Regions from separate parts of the Homo sapiens genome. Here region 1 is linked to region 2. The links are contacts of gene promoters, found by promoter capture Hi-C in human tissues and cell types (Jung and others, 2019). All regions are on one chromosome and are shown on one strand. The core of a region is centred on a gene start or on the middle of the fragment in contact, and the rest is flanking DNA. Distances in the headings are between cores, read along the strand shown. Region 1 has its middle 89 kb from the start of SPIDR. Region 2 holds the start of SPIDR (scaffold protein involved in DNA repair).

The links. Contacts are between HindIII fragments. The study calls those that stand out against the background at their distance.
Region 1: a contact is called between a fragment that was not itself captured here and the fragment with the promoter of SPIDR in region 2, in 2 of the 25 tissues and cell types used here (adrenal gland and spleen).

Annotation. Positions count from the first base shown.
Region 1 is chr8:47,168,756-47,175,028 of GRCh38, reverse strand. No RefSeq gene overlaps it. Among named protein-coding and RNA genes, the nearest start is that of SPIDR, 89 kb to the left of the region's middle. The HindIII fragment of the contact is 4,639 bases long and covers 2,654-6,273 here.
Region 2 is chr8:47,258,564-47,264,991 of GRCh38, reverse strand. It overlaps SPIDR (scaffold protein involved in DNA repair), which reads right to left and starts at 4,054. Exons shown (of 20, transcript NM_001080394.4): 1 at 4,001-4,054. The coding sequence starts at 4,033. RefSeq lists a silencer at 3,791-4,340. The HindIII fragment of the contact is 26,545 bases long and covers 1-6,428 here.

The DNA.
Region 1 (6,273 bases), core at 3,724-6,223, 91 kb after region 2:
CAAGTGCAACTAGATATTCAAGGGCACGCCAGTAATGCAGCTGATTCACTGAGGCATTAACATTGATCTGATAAAGTTTAATAACAGGTGATTGGCTCAGATGAATTAATTATTATAAACGTTAATCTTGATTTGTTGGGTATTCAAGGTAGAAAGGAAAACGGTGAACATGTGACTGCTTTTCACCTTCTCATTTTGCTTTTCATTTTCTTATTTACCAATCATTGAGAGGTGAATTATTAAAAAAACACTTTAGTAGTATTTGTCTGCAGCTACTACATTGCTAGTTTTGACTGAATTAGTCAGTTAACCTAACTTCCTAAATTGACTAAACATTTGACTGAAAAGATTCTTTGGAAGAAAATATAGACTATTTCACAATATTATAGTGACATATTGTGTGAAAATGTAGATTAAGGGCACTCAACACATTTCTGTTAATCCAATTATATGTTTCTACATGGATATAAGAGTAAATGCCATTCAGCCGGGCGTGGTGGCTCACATCTGTAAGCTCAGCACTTTGGGAGGCCAAGGCAGGCAGATCGTGAGGTCAGGAGATCGACACCATCCTGGCTAACATGGTGAAACCCCGTCTCTACTAAAAATACAAAAAATTAGCCAGGCATGGTGGCCGGCGCCGGTAGTCCCAGCTACTTGGGAGGCTGAGGCAGGAGAATGGCGTGAACCCAGGAGGTGGAGCTTGCAGTGAGCCGAGATCATGCCGCTGCACTCCAGCCTGGGCAACAGAGCGAGACTCCATCAAAAAAAAAAAAAAAAAAAAAAGTAAATGCCATCAGTGTTACAAAACTTGGTGCAAAATTTAGACACTTTAATAGTTGTGTAGTAGGGGATTTCAAGTATTATTTTCTAAAGGTTGACTGTTAACAATTAGGTCCTATAAAGAAAAAGTTTTTAAATGTCCTATAATGTAGTCTTTATTTTATAAGCAGTGTTTCTAGACAAAAGGGACCTTCTAAACTTTATTTCTAAAAATCAAAAGCTGTTAGAGTCAGAAAGGTTTTTAAGATTGAATCTAAGCTTTTTTTGTTGTTGTTATGAATGAGGAAACTGGAGCCACACATGAATATGAACGGCCCTGTTATGTTTGAATCTCAGTTTTGGAATGTGTGGTTTACCATTTGAATGAAGATCTGAGCAGGTAAGAGCTTATCATTGTTCCAAATGGTGTTCAGGCATACACTCTATTCTATGATGCCCCATCATCCTGGATGACTCTCCTTTTTATGTTGAATTAATGCAAGGTTATATTTGCAGAGAAAGGTAAGGAGGCATATTAAAAATCCACAGTAATGTAGATAAATTTTGTAAAATCAAATAATATTGATCACCTATTTCTATGCATTTTTCTGTTTTTCACACCTTGCTTTCCATAATGAAAGTGACATTCTGCTTTGAATCATTTCCAGCGAAGTGACTTTCAATATTATTGTCTGTGACATTTTGACAGTTAAAATGCATTTCTTAAGCCTAATGGAAATGCTGCAGTGTTTTTTCTTGTTTTCATCCCCCCCACCCACAGTGGTCCTATCTGCGCTTGTTGCCTGGGAAACTACAATGTTGAACATTTTGATATGTTTGTTGGCTTCGTATGTCTTCTTTTCAGAAGTGTCTGTTTACATCTTTTGCCCACCTTTTTTTTCTTCTTCTTCTTCTTTTTTTTTTTTTTTTTTGAGACAGAGCCTTGCTCTGTTGCCCAAGCTGGAATGCAGTGGCATGATCTCAGCTTACTGCAACCTCTGCCTCCCAGCTTCAAGCGATTCTCCTCCCTCAGCCACCTGAATAGCTGGGATTACAGGCACCTGCCACCATGCCCAGCTAATTTTTGTATTTTTAGTAGAGACAGGGTTTCACCATGTTGGCCAGGCTGGTCTTGAACTACTGACCTCAGGTGATCTGCCTGCCTCGGCCTCCCAAAGTCCTGGGATTACAGGCATGAGCCATTGTGCCTAGCCTTTTGCCCACTTTTTAATGGGATTATTCGTATTTTGCATATTGATTTAAGTTTCTTATAGATGCTAGATATTAGACTTTTGTGAATATTTTCTTCCATTCTGTAGGTTTTCTGTTTATTCTGTTGATAGTTACTTTTGTTGTGAAGAAGTTCTTTAGTTTAATTAGGTCCCACTTGTCAATTTTTGTTTTTATTGCAACTGCTATTGAGAACCTAGTCATAAATTCTTTTTTTTTTTTTTTTCAATTTGAGACAGAGTCTCACTCTATTGACCAGGCTGGAGTGCAGTGGTACAGTCTTGGCTCACTACAACTTCTGTCTCCTGGGTTCAAGCAATTCTCGTGCCTCAGCCTCCCAAGAAGCTGGGATTACAGGTGCGTACCCCCATGCCAGGGTAATTTTTTGTAATTTTAGTAGAGACGGTTTCACCATGTTGGTCAGGCTGGTCTCGAACTCCTGACCTCAGGTGATCCGCCCACCTCAGCACTCCCAAAGTGCTAGGATTACAGGTGTGAGCCACCGTGCCCGGCCTCTAGTCATAAATTCTTTCCCAAGGCTGATGTCCTGAATGGTATTTCCTAGGTTTTCTTCTAGAGTTTCCCGGCTGGGAGTTGCAATTCTTATATCAGATAAAACAGACTTTAAACCAATAAAATTAGGTAGGACAAGGAAGGGCATTATTACATAATGATAAAGGCTAACAAGAAGACTTAACTATTAAAGTCTTACACTTAAATCTTTGATCCAGTGGCAAGATAGATATAAAGCTAGATATAAAGACAAGACCCAACCATCATCAAGAGATTAATCTCACATGTAACAGTATCCACAGGCTCAAAGTAAAGGGGTGGAGAAATGTCAACCAGGTAAGAGTCGCTGTTCTTTTTTTTTTTTTTTTTTTGAGATAGGGTCTCTGTTACCCAGGCTTGAGTGTAGTGTTGTGATTACGGCTCACTGCAGCCTCAACCTCTGAGGCTTAAGTGATCCTCCCACCTCAGCCTCCAAGTAGCTGGGACTATAGGCATCTGCCACCACGCCTGGCTAATTTTTGTAGAGATGGTGTTTTGCCATGTTGCCCAGGCTGGTCTCCAGCTCTTGAGTTCAAACAATCCACCTGCCTTGGCCTCACAAAGTGCCTGGATTATAGGCATTAGTGACTGCATCTGGACTAGAAGTTGCAATTCTTTATTTATTTATTTATTCATTTATTTATTTTGAGATAGAGTCTTGCTCTGCCACCCAGGCTGGAGTGCAGTGGTGCGATCTCGGCTCACTGCAACCTCTGCCTCCCAGGTTCAAGCGATTCTTCTGCCTCAGCCTCTCGAGTAGCTGGGACTATAGGTGGGTGCCACCACGCCCAGTTAATTTTTGTATTTTTAGTAGAGATGGGGTTTTGCCATGCTGGCAAGGCTGGTTTCGAACTCCTGACCTCAAGTGATCCACCCACCTCGGCCTCCCAAAGTGCTGGGATTACAGGTGTGAGCCACCGTGCCCGGCCGGGAGTTGCAATTCTTATATCAGATAAAACAGACTTTAAACCAATAAAATTAGGTAGGACAAGGAAGGCAGTATTACATAATGATAAAGGCTAACAAGAAGACTTAACTATCCTAAATATATGTGCACCCAACACTGAAGCACCCAAATTCATAGCACAAGTTTTTCTTGTCCTACAAAATGACATAGACAACCACACAATAGTAGTGGGAGACTTCACCTCCCCACGGAAGCGTTAGTCGGATCATTAAGGCAGAAAATTAACAAAGAAATGTGGGACTTAAACTCAAAACTTGACCAATTAGACCTAATAGTCTTCTACAGAATCCTCCACTCAACAACCACAGAATACACATTCTTCTTATCTGTATGTGGAACGTATTTTAAGATGAACCATATGCTCAGCCATAAAGCAAGTCTCAATAAATAATTAAAAAAACCCTGAAATTGTACAAAGCACACTGTGAGACCACAGTGCAATAAAAATATAAACCAATAGCAGTTAAGATCTCTTAAAACAACACAAATACATGGAAATTAAACAACTTGTTCCTGAATAAATCCTGGGTGAACATTGAAATTAAGGCAGAAATAAAAAAACTTTGAAATTAATTAAAATAGGCACATAGCTTACCAGAGATTTCTGGGATTTCTCTTCACACAAGTAAAGCAGTGTGAAGAGGAAGTTTATACCTCTAAATGCCTTCATCAAAAAGTCAGAAAGATCTCAAATTGACAATTAACTGGGCACCTAAAAGAACTTGGGAACCGAAGAACCAACCAACCCCAAAGCTTGTAAGAAACACATAAATACCTAAAATCAGAGAAGAACTTAATGAAATTGAGATGCAAAAATCTATACAAAAGGTTAATGAAACCAAGAGTTGCTTCTCTGAGAAAAATAAACAATATTGATGCACTGCTAGCTGGATTAAAGATCCAAATAAGTAGAATTGGAAATGACAAAGATGGCATTACAACTGTTCTTACAGAGATGAAAGGGACCCTCAGAATACTATGAACAATTCTATACAAACAAATTAGAAAATCTGGAGGAAATGGATACATTCCTGGAAATATACAGTCTCCTAAGATTAAATCAGGAAGAGATTGGAACCTTGAGTAGACCAATACTGAACCCTGATTGAAACAGTAATATAAAACCTAGCAATGAAAAAAGTCCCTGGACCTGATGGATTCAAAGCCAAATTCTGAATTCAAAGCCTTTCTGAAACTACTCTAAAAAGTCGAGGAGGAGAGACTCCTCCTTAATTCATTCTATGAAACGAGCATCAGCCTAACACTAAAATCTGGCAGAGACATGACAAAGAAAAAAAATTTCAGGCCAATATCCCAATGAGCATAGAAGAAGAAATCCTCAACAAAATACTAGCAAACTGAATCCAGCAGCACATTGAAAAACTAATTCACCTTGATCAAATAGACTTTATTCCAGGGATGTTGGTTCAACATCTGCAATCGGTAAGTGTGATTCCCTGTATAAACAGATTAAAAGCAAAAACCATATGATTATCTCAATAGACGCAGAAAAATCTTTTGATAAAATCTTAACACCCCTTCATGATAAAAACTCTCAACAGGCTGGGCACGGCGGCTTATGCCTCTAATCCCAACACTTTGTGAGACTAACGTGGGAAGATCACTTGAGCCAAGGAGTTCAAGGCCAGCCTGAGCAACATAGTGAGACTCCCGTCTTTCAAAAAATAAGATAAATTAGCCAAGCATGGTGGTGCATGCCTGTAGTCCCAGCTACTCAGGAGGCTGAGGCAGGAGGATTGCTTGAGCCAAAGAGATGGAGGCTGCAGTGAGCTGTGATCATGCCACTGTGCTCCAGGCTGGGCAACAGAGACCTTGTCTCAAAAGATAAAATATAAAATAATAAAATATAGTAAAATATAAAATAAAATATGAGTTGCGCAGTAGATAATACAAAAGAGGTGGGAAGCTTATCTCCAGTGGAGCTTCCTGTTGCACCTGGCGGTCTTGGCTCATAACTTGGCACCTCTAAGCCCTGGGAAGGGCAGTATGGGTCAGTATTTTGTGCCAGGGCTCCATGGAGGAATGAGGAGAGGGCTGGCTGTGGAGACTTGGGGAGCATCCTGGGGATGGGGAGATGGGGAGCTCTGGAGAATGATGGGATAAATGACAGTTATGCTGAAACTTTGTGTTCTAATTCAGGGAAACACATGTGGCTTGAGGGAATTCTGTATTTGGAGATTTATGGCCAGACACCAGCAGAGTGGGAGTTTGTCACTGGTAGAAAAGGAGTCAGGAAACAGATGATGTGGCTTCACAGAGTCAGATGTGGAGAAGAATATGGCAGAGGGTGAGGAAGCAGGGAGAGGCCCTAGGCAGATGCTCAGATTCCCTGATCCTGCCTCTATGTGCTCCACATGGCCTTGGCTGGGAGACCCCAAAGAGTCTCTGCTGTGACAGATTTCATTGATTGCTCACAGCAGTCCTGGGAGTGCTGAGATAACTACTAGATAAAAACGCTGAAGGATTATCTGTCAGACATTTCTTTATTTTTTATTGATACAATGTCTCTGTTGTCTAGGCTGGAGTGCAGTGGTGCAATTTCGGCTGACTGCAACCTTGACCTCCCTGGCTCAGGTCATCCTCCCACCTCAGCCTCCCAAGCAGCTGGGACTACAGGTGCGCACTACTATGGCCAGCTAGTTTTTGTATTTTTTTTTTTTGTAGAGACAGAGTTCCTCCGTGTTGCCCAAGGTGGTCTTGAATTCCTGGACTCAGGTGATCCACCTGCTTTGGCCTCCCAA
Region 2 (6,428 bases), core at 2,805-5,304:
GCAATTCCAGGGAAATCTAGAGACAAAGCAGTAGAGGATGTACAATATCTTTGTCCTCATATGATTTCTTTAATTATCATGGTGTTTCATTATTAATTGCTTTCATTATCACCAACATTTATTGAGTGTTTATATGCTCGGTATATCATCGCATGCATTCTCATAATTTAATCCTCACATCAACCCAGCAATATAGGTATTAACCCCATTTTATAAAGAAACGACAACTCAATGTTAGGTATATTGCCCTATTCAGAGAACTTGAACCCAGGAGACAGTGGTTGCAGTGAGCCGAGATCGGGCCACTGCACTCCAGCCTGGGTGGCTGAGCAAGACTCCATCTCAAAAAAAAAAAAAGAAAATCTCAAAAGGCAAGCTGCTGCCCAAGAACAGGAGTATATGTGGTCGTCCTTGGCTACTTCATAAGGAAAGGGAGAACACAAGGCACAAAGGGAAGAATCACAGCATGTTAAGGGATAGTGAGGGGCTAGGGCAGGAGAAACTCATGGAGGAGAGGGGAGTGAGGAAAGAACTAAGATACCCCAGCCTTTGAGCAACTGACTGCCCTAATCTCCCTGGGACTTAAATACCACATATCTATATATGTGATATATAGGATATATCTATATATCCTAACATCAGTTAAGAGGCAAACAACTTTCTCACTTCTCATAGGTTCGACTTTCTGAATCACCATGGGTTTCCTCCTCTTCCTCTTTCAATTGCAGTTGCCTAAATCTCACCTTCCATTTGTAGTCTGTCAACCCAGTCCTTTCTATTCTATTCCTAATTCCACCACCTTAGTCCATAACCACACCACCTTTCATCTTAAGAGTCGTGATATATCTGTGTGGCTTGTCCAAAACTGCAAAATCATTCAGCTGTACTGCTGAGGCAGATATCCGAGTCTTCGGACTAGGGTATTTCCTCCTGTTTCTTCACACCTGGAATACTTGCAAATCTTCTAAACTAGTTCTCCTTTCATTAATTCATCAGATATCTAGTACATACAAGGGATATGACAGGTATTCTGGGGAATATGGGCTGAAGAAATAGTCCCTAATCTTAAATGTCTAGAATATAAGGGAATAAAGGTGTAGACACAAATAAACCTAATGTAAGACATGGAATAGTAAGAGTTATTTACATAAAATTCCACAGACTACAGAAGAAAGTTCATTTACAGCTGGGATAATTTGGGAGGTGAAATTTGGGGTGGGCCTCAATGGATGACTAAGATTCCAATCAGCAGAAATGGGAGAACTGGCATTATTCCAAACCAAGAACATACAGAAGAAAGTTCATTTATAGCTGGGATAATTTGGGAGAAGGTGGGATTTGAAGTAGGCCTCAATGGATGATTAAGATTTCATGGCCGGGCGCAGTGGCTCACGCCTGTAATCCCAGCACTTTGGGAGGCCGAGGCGGGCGGATCACGACGTCAGGAGATCGAGACCATCCTGGCTAACACGGTGAAACCCTGTCTCTAATAAAAATTTAAAAAAAATTAGCCCGGTGTGGAGGCTGGCGCCTGTACCGAGATCGCGCCACTGCACTCCAGCCTGGGCGACAGAGCGAGACTGCGTCTCAAAAAAAAAAGGTTTCAATCAGCAGAAATGGGAGAACTGGCATTATTCCAAACCAAGAACATACGCAATTACCACCAAGGGGCAAGCAAGTACAGTGACGCAGTAGTCTAGTTTACCTATAAGATAAATAATGAGCAAAGCTGTAAAGGAATAAGACACAGATATTATGGAGGCTGTGAATAACAGGCTGAGAGCCTGAACAAAAGCAAGGTCTGGGGCAGACTACCTGGATACAAATCCTAGCTTCTTCCCTTAACTGCTGTGTGACCTTAGGCAAATTACTTAGCCTCTCTGCTGAGCCTCAGTTTCCTCATCCATAAAATGAGACTAATGGTATCTACCTCACAGGACTGTTAAAATAATTAAATTAGTTAATACATATAAAGCACTAAACACAGGATAAGTTCTGCAGTAAATTATGATGTAGCCAATAAGAAGTAAAATGAGATTTAGATAGAGGACTAACAATATAATCAAAGTAGTGCCTAAGGGAAAGTCACCTCTGAAGATGGAATGGGAGCATGCTAGCCGGCACTACACATCAACACTCCAACCATTAAGTACTTTTGAGACTGACCGAGGGAGACAGAAACAAAAAATAAATTCCTGGGAAATACTGTGGAAGCCAGCCTCCAAGGTGGCCCCTGTGATCCCCACCTCCTGGGGACCCTCTATAGTCTCCTCATACATTGTACCGGGTTGGTCCATGTAATGAATAGACAGGAGATGGGATGTCACTTCTGAGTTTAGGCTATAAAAGACACGGGGACCGATATCTTGTTGCTCTCTCTCTTGCTCTTGGGAAAGCCAGGACCCTGTTGTGAGCTGCCCTATGCAGCTGTCAAGAAACAACCACGTGAGTGAGCTTGGAACTGGATTCTCCAGCTCCAACGACCCTTTATTTGACTGCAGCCTTGTGGGAGATCCTGAACTACAACCACTTAGTTGAGCCGTTCTCAGATTCCTGAGTCTCAGAAACTCTATGATATAATAAACATTTGTTATGAACTGCTTCAGTTTTCAGCAACGTATTACACAATAGACAACTGTACGACTACTAAAAAAAATTGAGTAAAAAAAAAGAGTCTTGAAAAATGACAAGATGAAGAGACCAGAAGTGAACGTCAATTCAAAAATACTAAGATTTCTAAGTCAAGAGAAACTGTTAGGGCCTGGAGGACTAAGGGTGAGATGATGATTATGTGATGCACTAAGTTTGAGCTCTAGGGAAAGATCTAATATAGATCTGAAAGTCATCTATATAGTTAACTTCAATGTATGACATTGTCCAAAGCAAATATGGAACATGTGAAAAAGCACAAGGTCAAAAATTAGAACATGGCACGAACACAGTAAAGAGAAGAAAATGAGCTGTTGCAAGACAGGAAAACAATCATGGATGTTCCAAAAGAAATAAAAGCAGGTGGTGAATGTGTCAAACGCTCCAATGATCAAGTAAACAACTTACACTGGATTTAGCAAATTTATATATTTCCTTGATTTTTTTCACACATTAATGCTTCAGAAATCAGACTGTATCTTATAATCAAGAGGTGCCTGAAATGAATTTCTTTATTCCCTAAAGCCAGTCACAAAACTGATAGTGTGGGCTGATAATCAATGGTATTTGAGAAGCGAGAAAGCATGGTAGTGGTAAAGAAGTTGAACCAGTATATGTGGTCTATTTTTTCCAGGAAGTTTTCAAGTAAAGGCAAGAGTCAAGAAAGGAGGTCCTGTGTTTGCTTTTTAAAAACCGTTTTACTATGAGACAAACGTATTTGAAAGCAAGGAAGTTAGAAGAAACTTTAAAACGATAAAGGACACATGCCATGACAAGCACAATTAGCAGAACAAAAAAGGATGCACTCGCGGATACAGGTGCAATCAAACACCATTCAAGCAACGATTCCTAGGCACCCGCTCCCGTTCTGGAACCCGAGGCAGCGCGGTGCCCACGGATTGGGCAGTCAGCCGCACAGTCCCCTCCGAGTGCGGCAGGAAGAGAGACAGAGTTGACAGTGGATTATCCGCGGAGACGGGTAAAACCACGCCAGGATTCCCTGCGGTTTGGTACATTACACCAGAATCAAAAAGAGACAAGAGTAAGGCCAAGTACCCCCGAGGCGGACATATGCTCCCGCCCGCTGCGTCCCTCGGCGGTCCCACCCCTCGCTTTCCGTACCGCCGCTGAGGGCCCGGCCCGCACGCCTGGACCGGAGCCGGACCTGGGGGCGGTACCCCACTGCGCGGGCTTGCTCCACGCGCGCAGACGGGACCCGCCACCACCTAGCCCTTCACCCCCAACGCCCACCCTCTCTCACCCCAGCACAACGGGGCCAGCCCCGCGCCGGCCCGCCGCTTCCCCGCAACGCGGGAAACGGCGCGGCGCCCACTCCCGCCCCAGAGCCTACCTTAGAGCCCCGAGCGCGGCTGCCGCGGGGCATCTCCGGGAGCGCCGCCTGAGCGCACCGCCTCCTCAGCGCGCCGCCGTCCCACCTCGGCGCGCCGCACCGCGCCCTGCCATTGGCGGGCGCTCGGGCGCAGGGCGGGGCTTCGGCGGGGGGCAGGGCTTCTCCGGCCCCGGCGCTCCAGGGCCTCCCGGATGGCCTAGTCGGGCCCGGAGCCCGGAAGGAGTGCCCCGCGGAGAGTCGAGCTTCCTTCCCCGGGGCTGGGGGTTCCGCGGAGCTCGCTCTGGGCTGTGGCGTTGCTCGCCCGCGAGCTCCTGGGGAGTTCGGGGGAGCTGCTGGGCTGGTGCCTGGAGCGGGGGCCGCCTCCAAGTATTGTCTTTCGAATTAAGTTACTGTCGTCTGTGTTGTCAGGCAACAACTGACCTTAAATAAAAATGAAAACCAGAAGTAGGCTACACATGCAATAGGCTACACATGCAATAATGGATACTTAAGGAATGGGAGTGGCTGCTGGTGACTGGAGCAGAGAGGGTGTGGTTTCCCCATGTTTCGGGGCCGGGGGGAAGGAGTAAAGTCTGTGTTCAGAGCCCAGACGCCATGTCGGTCATCACATCACCGGGAGAACTCGTGGAGCCTGAGGAAAGGCTACGGGGTGCCAGAGTCTGAAGGGGCGGAAGATTGCATTCCTATCACGTTCGCCGTGGCGCACAGGGGCTCCGCTGGGGCCGCCGCTCCCGCAGGAGAAGTGGGCCTGAGACGGTGCGGCGTCGACCATAGCCGGCCCAGCAGAAGCCGGGGAAGGCCACAAGTGTAACTGGGTCCGAGTACTGTGAAGAAGGCGCCTCCCATGGAGAAAGCTACCGGGTAGTTTAACAAGGTGGAAAAGCGTTGGCCTGGGGAGGAGGAAAGGATGCTCAGAAAGTTGCCTCAAAAGGACGCAGAAGTGGAGGTGAATCTTCTGTTTCAGAGGCATTTTTTTGTGCCTCTGTGAGAATGCATTGCTTCCTGGTTGATCCATCTTCAGGTTTTCTCTCCGTCCTAGTCCCTGTTCTGCCACCATTCTGTGTTTGAATCTGGTACCTAAAGCCGCAGATACTTGGTTCATAGTAGATGTCCACTCTGCAGTGGCTGAAAACACGGAAGAAAAACCATCTTTGCCTGGGAAGGACATTATTGCTAGTGCCATTACTGTCAACAGTTGGAACAAGATAAACGGCATGCCCAATCTAGTTGAGGATTTTGGACACCGGGCCTCCCACTGGGACTCCGCCGAGAAACCAGGTCTGCCATTGCCACCTCCGCCGGGCCTTGCTGTCTTAGCACAGTAAGTGCACCCGACCGCGCCCGGAGTCCCCCTTTCACTCCCACAACCAGGCCTGTGGTGAGGCTCCCGCTTGTCATCTCCACCAGGAGGTGCTGTCCTGCCGAAATGTTGGGGTTTTTCTCCAAACTTCCTCCTGTTCAGAATTCGCCATCTCAGTAGTGGCATGGACATCCACCTGGCCACAGCTCACGCAGAAACCTAGGAATTTTTGTGAACACGTTTGTGTGTCTTACTAATGTGTCCACTCTCCACTACCACTGTTTCCCAGGCCACTAGTATCTTTTGCCCAGACTGCTAGTAGCTCTTAACCCATGTCCCCTAATCCACTCTTGCCCCTCACACAGCACACACATACAATCCATTCTCAACACAGACACCACAGTGAGGTTTATGCTGTCTATACTGGCCTTCCCTTTCGGTGGTCAAACGTGCCTAGCTCCTGCAGCCTTGGGGTCTAATAAGCATTTGCTCTTCCTTTTGCCTAAAAGGCTCTGGCCTCCCTCTGCCATGCCATTTCCTATGCGCCTGTCAAACCTGAACCTGGTGGCCAGCTTCCCTAAACTAGCAAGCCTGAACCTCCCTGCTCTTCCATGTCCGCAGGACCTCATGCTCTGTTGAAGATGTTATAACAATTAGAATCTAAATAATTACGAAAGTTATTTGTTTACCATGTGGTTCCACCTCCATGCTGTAAGGTAATACCATTTCTATCTTCTCCGTTTTTGTATCTCTATCAGTTAGCACAGCGTCTTCCATATACAAAGTACTCAGTTATTTACTATGGATGAACTGCTAATTGTGAAACAGAAATGACTTGCCAGAGGCTGCACAGCTAGTAACTGTTCAGGATTAGAACTCATATGTGATACCAAGGTCGATGCATTCTCCACTACACCAATCAGATCATAGTAGAATCATGAGGAATTTTTCACTTGAACATATGAACTCAGCAAAAGGGAACTGTTGATAATAAAGATGAGCCCCTGCAGAAAGGGTCTCTTAAGTCCTCTCCAGTCTTGCCTCATTTCCTCCTCAGCAAACACTCAATGGCAAACATCAAGACAAACCAGAAAGTCCTTCTTTTAACTTTTTTCTCATCAAACTTTT